Regions from separate parts of the Homo sapiens genome. Here all the other regions are linked to region 2. The links are contacts of gene promoters, found by promoter capture Hi-C in blood cells and fetal thymus (Javierre and others, 2016). All regions are on one chromosome and are shown on one strand. Each heading gives the region's core, a stretch centred on a gene start or on the middle of the fragment in contact. The rest is flanking DNA. Distances are from core to core; before and after follow the strand shown.

Region 1 (2,747 bases), core at 10-2,509, 220 kb before region 2:
GGCAGCAGTGGGCACCCAGCAGCGTGGGCAGCACTGTGGGCAGCGGTGGGTACCCAGCACCGTGGGCAGCACTGTGGGCAGCGGTGGGCACCCAGCACCTTGGGCAGCACTGGGCAGCGGTGGGCACCCAGCACCGTGGGCAGCACTGTGGGCAGTGGTGGGCACCCAGCACCATGGGCAGCACTGGGCAGCGGTGGGTACCCAGCACCATGGGCAGCACTGGGCAGCGGTGGGCACCCAGCACCATGGGCAGCACTGGGCAGCGGTGGGTACCCAGCAGCGTGGGCAGCACTGTGGGCAGCGGTGGGCACCCAGCAGCGTGGGCAGCACTGTGGGCAGCGGTGGGCACCCAGCAGCGTGGGCAGCACTGTGGGCAGCGGTGGGCACCCAGCAGCGTGGGCAGCACTGTGGGCAGCGGTGGGTACCCAGCAGCGTGGGCAGCACCGTGGGCAGCGGTGGGCACCCAGCACCTTGGGCAGCACTGGGCAGTGGTGGGCACCCAGCATTGCTCAGCAACTTCCTTTTGGTTTCTGTGGCTCCTTTTCTTCAAAGACCCAAGGTGCCCTCCGCCTCCGCAGCTCCAGTGAGCAGGGGTGCCAAGGGCAGATGGTGAGGCAGGGCTTCCTGGGCCTCCCACGTGCTCCACGGGTTTCAAGGGCGGCCCTGACACCTCTGCCAGGGCCTGTGGGCCAGACCTCCCTGGAAGGCATCTCTTGTCCATCAGACTGGATGCTTTCTGCCCTGCTGAGATGGGGAGGGCAGGTCCCCGGACAAGCTCAGCCGTCCAGTTCCAGGTGGGTTGACAGCCACCCACAGAGTCCCCCGCTGACTCCCCTCTGCAGACGTGGCGTGCTGCACCTCCACCAGAGCCATGGCATCGACGACCTGGGGCCTCCGCGGTGGCAGCTCACAGCCTGCCTGGTGCTGGTCATCGTGCTGCTCTACTTCAGCCTCTGGAAGGGCGTGAAGACCTCAGGGAAGGTGAGGCTCGGGGGTCACCAATTGGGCCTGTAGACATGGGGCCACCAAGTGGACATGTGGCCGTGGCTGGACAGGAGGTGCACGTGTGGCCTCAGTTGGGTTTTGTGCTACCAATGTGGCCATGGCCAGGTTGGGGTGGACACATGGCCATGGTTGAGTTTGGGAGACTCATATGGCCATAATCAGGTTGGGAGTGTACACGTGGCCATGATTGAGGGTACACCTGTGGCTGTGCCGGGTTGGCTTGGGTAGACGCGCGGCCATGGGTGGGTGGGGGGACACGTGGCCGTGGCTGGGCTGGGCGGACACACGGCACAGTTGGGTTTTGGGTCCACGTGTGGCTGTGTTTGGGGAAGGGCCTCAGGAGGGAAGCACTCACAGCAGTGTTTCTGGCAGGAAGGCACACACAAGATGATTTTTTTGTTGATAAAAATACTTTGGGAGGCTGAGACGGGCAGATCACCTGAGGTCAGGGGTTCAAGAACAGCCTGGCCAACATGATGAAACCCCATCTCTACTAAAAATACGAAATTAGCCAGGCACGGTGGCACGTGCCTATAATCCCAGCTACGTGGGAGGCTGAGGCAGGAGAATTGCTTGAACCCAGGAGGCGGAGGTTGCAGTGAGCCAAGATCATGCCACTGCACTCCAGCCTGGGCAAAAAGAGCAAAACTCCATCTCAAAAAAAAAAAAAAAACTTTGGTTGTTATATGGGCCAAAACCAGTTTTGACCAAGATACGACTCCTCCCTTGGAAAAGTGCGTGTAGTATGGCACCAGCCACGGGAGCCTCCCGCAGGGACACAGCCCAGAGCAGCCCTTCATCGTGCCACAGTGCCGTTCACCAGTGTGAATCCACTCACGTCCCACGCATCAGAAAACCCCCATCAGCCACTCCCAGCTACTCTGGCGGACCGAATGCAGAAAAGGAATGTGCTTTCCCTGCCAAGTTGTTCTTCCCTTTCCATCCCTGGGGAGGGTGTGCAGGACAGAAAGTGTCTGACCTTCTCACTCCAAGGAGCATTTGCTGAGCTGGCGTCCCAGGAAATGTTTGGGAATTGGGCCTCCCAATCAGAGGACAAGCCGTCAGGGCAACCCGGTGCCCTTGTGCCAGTGTCTGCTCCCACCAAGGGCCCTGCCTGTGCAGCCTGGTGACACTGTCCTCTCCTGCAGGTGGTATGGATCACAGCCACCATGCCATACGTGGTCCTCACTGCCCTGCTCCTGCGTGGGGTCACCCTCCCTGGAGCCATAGACGGCATCAGAGCATACCTGAGCGTTGACTTCTACCGGCTCTGCGAGGCGTCTGTGAGTACAGTCTGCTCACTGCTTCACAGTCCACAGGGGCTCTGGCATTCCCAGGTTTCCATATGCATTGCCTGCCAGGGCTGAGAGGTGTCAGAGTTGCAGACACCAGGGTTCTTTCCTCGGGAAGCCAAATCCCAAGTACCTGTGATACAGCACGAGTCATCTAAATCAAATTACATCAGAAACTCCATCTAGACTCAGGCTGCAGCTTTGGTCAGCAAAAGAAGACATAATTCAGGGTTAAAATATTTGGAGAAAGCCTCCCGGAGAGAGGAGACTCAGCTGGGCCATGGGGGATGGGACCCTTGTCCAGAAAGGGAGGAGAAAGGGCTGCACCCTTCCTGGCAAACAGGCCCAGAAACAGAAGCAGCTGTTGGCGGAAGGCTGGCATGACAAAAATGGCAGCTCCCTTGGGGCATCGTTGGAAATCAGGTGGACTAAGTGGGGGAGGTGGCAGGC
Region 2 (2,862 bases), core at 356-2,855:
GCTCAGGCAGTCCCAACCCCTCCTCTTCCCAGGAGGCATGTGTCTGCCCCTCCATCCCCAGTGGGGATGTGAGCCTGTGACTCAGTTTCTCCTCCAAGCTAAACAAACTCAGGGTGTGGGTGAGCGCAGGGATCCTCCCCACAGGATAGGGCCCTGGGGGAGGGGGCGAGGACAGTGGCCAGGAAGTCCCCTGAGGCTTTGGTGAGCTGAGACTTGGGGACTGTCAGGGACTATAGTATCGGAGTGGCCAAGGTCCCCCGACCTGCCTCCAGTGGAAAGTGCAGGCTGGACCAGAGGCTCATGAAGCGCCCACCCCCGCAAGGCAGTGATCAACTCCTTGACAATGCTGGAGGCGAAACTGATTCAGGAAAAGCCCATTTCTGTTTTTCTTTAAAAACCTTCACATCACAAAGCCCGCGTGAGAGACAGCAGCTCTCCATGGTGAGAAGGAACAGGGCCCCCTGAGGGCAGACTCCTCTAAACGGAGGCTGAGACCTTCACGGCCCCCCCGTGAACTGCCCCAGGGCAGCAGGAAGCCTGTTTCCCAAGGGTGCCCGGCCCTCCTGGACCTTCCGCTGAGAAAGCAGCAGGTTTATGAGGGCAGCAGCTTTGGGGTTCGCCAAGCCCAAGGCTGAGTTCAAGTGTGGGGGTCCTAGGTACAGCCCCCTGCCAGGCCTGGGAGCCACTTCTCAGATGCTCAGGACCACTGGGCAGGAACACAAATGTCACCTCTGTGCCAGCAGCGGCCATGCCTACCTGGGCCGCAGGAGCCAGAGGAACGAGGAGCAGTCAGGCTTGTGTGTTGGGTGGGCACAGCGGCTCCCGGCCTCCAGGCCTGAGGGCACCTGGCTCAAGAGCCAGGCCCGAGTCCACAGGCTCCGGCTACCCACTCTGCTCCTCTAGGGTCACCTGCCCCCAACCCAGCTACCTCCTCTGCTCCCTGCACTGGCAGGTGTCCGCCTGTGGGGCTGGGACGAGAGGTGATGCCCAGGAGGGCCCAGCCCCGCGTCCTCCGAGGAGGGGCTGTACCGGGAGAAACACCCTTCCCCCGGCCCCACCCTCAGGCCAGAACGTTCCAGGACTGCCAGTCTGGAACACAGGGCCCTCCCTGGAGCCCCACACGAAGTCTTGGGGTCGTGCCGGCCAGGCCCATCTCCTCACCAGCAGCCTAGGAACCGGGCACGGGGGCCCGTGGGGGCCCCAGCTCCCCCCACACCCTGCGGCTTCTCCTCTCCCCTCCGTGCTTGGGGAGCCGAGGGTCCGGGGAGGATGTCTGCCCAGGGCCTCTGCGTGTGTCTGTGCTTCCCTGGCCACGGCCTCGCCCGCAGCCCCGCCCGGCCAGCCTACCTCCTCCGTGGCTCTGACACAGGTAGGGGAAGCGCCACACGTTGCCGAGGCCCACGCAGAAGCCCAGGCAGGTGAGCATGTACTGCGCCTTGTTGTCCCACTTCGGCCGGGAGCTGGCCTCCTCCTGCTCGATGGTCTCCAGCTCAGCCAGGGACGGGATCCGGGCGTCTAGGCCGGGGTTGGGCAGCACGAGCCTCACCATGGTGGTCGCTGGACGGCTCCGCACACAGCAGGCAGGGCAGAAGCTGGAGGGCGAGTGGCCGTGGGCCGGGAGCCGGGCACTTTATAGAGAACCTTTGGCACCTCGCCCCAGGCACCTGGGCAGAACGGAGCCAGTCGTCAGCAGATCTGCAGGGTGCGTCTGCGGAGGGACTGTTAATGCCTTATCTGCAGAGACGCCCGGCCCCGGGGCCAGCAGAGCCACCCACTGCCTTCGGGCAACCGGAGGCTGCTCCGTGGGCGCTGGCCACCCCTCCCCCTGCACAAACGCACACACAAATGCGTACAAACGCCGGTGCACCCCGGGGAGAAAGAACCAAGGCAAACAGGATGCTGGCTCTGCCCCGGTCTGGGAGCCCCTGGCTGCCGCACACCCCCACCTGCAGGACGCCGGGTGGGCCTCTCCACAGCTCCCTGGAGCACAGGCATCCCCGGCCCCCACCCCAGTCCAGGGAGAGGGAACTCAGCGGGAGCAGGGGCCCTGGGGCAGCTCTTGGTCTGCTCACACCAAGCACAGCGAGGCCCTGGACCCCTCCAGCCTGGCTCTGGGCTCTAGACGGCTGCTCGGGGGCCCGGCTTCCCACCAGTCCCCACGGAACCACGGCTCCTTGGGATGTGGCCTGAATCAACCTGAGAGTGGGGTTCCCGTGGCTGTGCCCCCTGGGCCACAGTTTCATTCTGGGGTTCGTAATGAACTTCATAATGAACAGCTCACGCTGCCCAACCCCAGCCTGGATGCCCGGATCCCATCCCTGGCTGAGCTGGAGAACATCGAGCAGGAGGAGTTCAGCTCCCGGCCATAGGTTCAGGACCCAGAGCCACCCTCTAGGGCAGCCTCGTCCCCAAGGGCCCTCTGGGGTCACGGGGGATGGAGGGTCCTGTGTCATGGAACCTGCAGCCACCCCAGATCCCCACCTTCCCGGTGACTGCACGGTTTCTGTCCTTCTGTGGAGCACTTTGTGGGGGGCAGTCCTGTGCCGGGCATGGGACAGCGAAGGAGATGGTGTTCCTGCTCCCCAGCAAAGAGGCCGTGCAGGGAAGCCACAGGGCTGACCACGGGGTCCAGGAGGGGCAGGAGGAACGTTGCGGGGAGTTCAGGAGAGGATCCTGGGGGTTGTGTCTCCAAAGCCAGAGTGGGATTCTCTCCTGGTTTTCCGCACAGGGAGTTGGAGGCCATCCTCTGTCGGGCGCTGCCCGTTTGGGCCCCCACTTGGGCCTCCCCTCACGTCTCTCCCATCTAGGAGACCTCAAGCTCTGGAATCCCGGACCAGCCTTCCTGAGGCCAGGGACGGTGCC
Region 3 (2,700 bases), core at 37-2,536, 250 kb before region 2:
AGGGCACTGCCTCCCCATGGGCAGCACACCTAAAGCTTCAAGAAGTCATCCTCATGCTTAATCAGACTCGCCACCTCTGGGTGATGGGAAACGTAGGGATTCCAAGTGTGTACCTGTTCCCATGCTGCCTTTGCTGTAAAGTAAATTCCTTAACAATGCCATAGGAGGTGGGCAATAGTGAATAAGCCATTCATCAAGCCCACAGATGGTGCTGTCAGAAACACTGACAGCAAAGACATATCCATATCTGGAATAAGGGAAACTGAAACCAAGAGATACTCCCCTCAATGATGGAAGAGTCCAGTGTGATCAACCTGCCTCCAGGGGGCTGGCTAGTCCCTTTCCCAGGAATGGTACCTGGGGCTAAGTATGGGACCCTGCTTCCGACATGTTGGGAGTCCAGTGATAACTGCATCAGCCTAGGCTATTGTTGATGGGTCAGCTCTTTGTTATTGATCCACACTCATCTCCATCCCTATTTCCAGTGCCAGTTTGTGAATGGTTCTACTAGGTAAACACTGGGTTGGCTGGGAAAGAGACAGGCTGACATCCACTGCCTGTGTCATACCCTGGCAGAGACTATAGTAAATTAGACCCGACAAGAGAAAATATTAGTGAACCTGAAAATACAGCTATGTGTGATCCCAGTGATGTACAGGGAGAAACAGACAGAAATGAAGCACAAGTGGGCATGGAATAATGCCACAAGGCCCATCACATGTGATTGGAGCCCTAGAAAAGGAGGAGGACAGGACAGAAAAATTATTTGATGAAATAATGGCCAGAATTTTTTTCCAAATCTATAAACTAAGATACCCAAGAAGCTCAATAAGCACCCAGCAGAAAAAATACAATAAAAACACAGCAAGACACACATCACAAACTGCTGAAAGCCACTGAAAAGGAGAAAAATCTTAAAAGCAGCTGGAGAAAAACAACATACTATCAAGGAACAGAGATAAGAATGAAAGCCAACTTCTCTTCAGAAACTATGCAACCCAGACGTCAAGGAACAGAGATAAGAACGACAGCCGACTTCTCTGCAGAAACTATGCAACCCAGACGTCAAGGAACAGAGATAAGAACGACAGCCGACTTCTCTGCAGAAACTATGCAACCCAGACGTCAAGGAACAGAGATAAGAACGACAGCCGACTTCTCTGCAGAAACTATGCAACCCAGACGTCAAGGAACAGAGATAAGAACGACAGCCGACTTCTCTGCAGAAACTATGCAACCCAGACGTCAAGGAACAGAGATAAGAACGACAGCCGACTTCTCTGCAGAAACTATGCAACCCAGACGTCAAGGAACAGAGATAAGAACGACAGCCGACTTCTCTGCAGAAACTATGCAATCCAGATGACTGATGACATCTTCAAAGAGACTAAAGACGAATGCGGCCACCCTGGAATTCTATGCTAAAATAAACATCTTTTAAAAATCAAGGCATAATAGAAACATTTTGAAATCAGCAAAAGCTGAGATAATTCACTGCCAGTAGTTCATAATGACCAACAATGTTCAGAGTTCTACAGGCAGAAATAAGAGAATACCATGCAGAAATTTGGCATTTGAAGGTAGATTGTGGTAAGTTAAAAATACACATAGTGGCCAGGCATGGTGGCTCACGCCTGTAATCCCAGCACTTTGGGAGCCTGAAGTGGGTGGATCATCTGAGGTCAGGAGACCTTGTGGCCAACATGGTAAAACCCCATCTCTACTAAAAGTATGAAAATTAGCTGGGCATGATGGTGGGTACCTGTAATCCCAGCTACTTGAGAGGCTGACGTGGGAGAATCTCTTGAACCCTGGAGGTGGAGGTTGCAGTGAGCTGATATGGTGCCATTGCATTCCAGCCTGAGGTGACCGAGCAAAACTTCATCTAAAAAAAAAATACACATAGTAAGACCCCCTCCCATAGAAAACAGAACCAAAGAAGTATAACTAATATAAATGTAAATTTTACCCAAACTAAGAAGGAAGGTGGGAGGGAAAGAACAAAGGACAGAGAATAGAGATAGATAACAAATAGCAAAACGGTAAATTTAAATCCAATCATATTAGTAGTTACATTAAACATAGACTAAAAACTCCTAAATGACATTTGTTGGACTAAATAAAAAATAAAATACCTAACTATATGCTGTTTAAATATAGATTGAAAGTAGAAGAATAGACTGGGCACAGTGGCTCCTGCCTATAATCCCAGCACTTTGGGAGGCCGAGGCAGGTAGATCATTTGAGGTCAGGAGGTCAAGACCAGCCTGTCCAACATGGTGAAACCCCATCTCTAGTAAAAATGCAAAAAAATTAGCTGGGCGTGGTGGCACATGCCTGTAGTCCCAGCTACTTGGGAGGCTAAGGCAGGAGAATCACGTGAACCCTGGAGGCAGAGGTTGCAGTGAGCTGAGATTGCGCCACTGCACTCCAGCCTGGGTGACACAGCAAGACTCTGTCTCATAAAAAAACAAAACAAAAAGGTAAGAAAGTAAAAGAATAGGAAATATATTTATAACATGCAAACAGAAGCTTAAGAAAGTTTATTTGGCAAGATTGTCATACTAAGTGTACTTTAGAGACTAGGAGAATTAGCAGAGTTAAAGACAGACATTTCATGATGATAAAAGTTCAATTCAATTGGAAGACACAATGTTTAAAAGTGCATGTATCTAATCACATAGCTTAAATATATTAAGC

What was found. Contacts are between HindIII fragments. The CHiCAGO score rates a contact against its expected background, and 5 or more counts as called.
Region 1: a contact is called between a fragment that was not itself captured here and the fragment with the promoter of SLC6A19 in region 2, in 1 of 17 cell types (non-activated CD4 T cells). The highest score is 5.3, in non-activated CD4 T cells.
Region 3: a contact is called between a fragment that was not itself captured here and the fragment with the promoter of SLC6A19 in region 2, in 2 of 17 cell types (naive CD8 T cells and non-activated CD4 T cells). The highest score is 5.2, in naive CD8 T cells.

Annotation. Positions count from the first base shown.
Region 1 is chr5:1,420,110-1,422,856 of GRCh38, reverse strand. It overlaps SLC6A3 (solute carrier family 6 member 3), which reads left to right. Exons shown (of 15, transcript NM_001044.5): 5 at 843-981; 6 at 2,154-2,288. Among named protein-coding and RNA genes, the nearest start is that of SLC6A3, 24 kb to the left of the region's middle. RefSeq lists an enhancer at 1-187. The HindIII fragment of the contact is 7,423 bases long and covers 1-2,747 here.
Region 2 is chr5:1,200,338-1,203,199 of GRCh38, reverse strand. It overlaps SLC6A19 (solute carrier family 6 member 19), which reads right to left and starts at 1,605. Exons shown (of 12, transcript NM_001003841.3): 1 at 1,348-1,605. The coding sequence starts at 1,549. The HindIII fragment of the contact is 15,195 bases long and covers 1-2,862 here.
Region 3 is chr5:1,454,954-1,457,653 of GRCh38, reverse strand. No RefSeq gene overlaps it. Among named protein-coding and RNA genes, the nearest start is that of SLC6A3, 11 kb to the right of the region's middle. RefSeq lists an enhancer at 587-1,786. The HindIII fragment of the contact is 2,497 bases long and covers 38-2,534 here.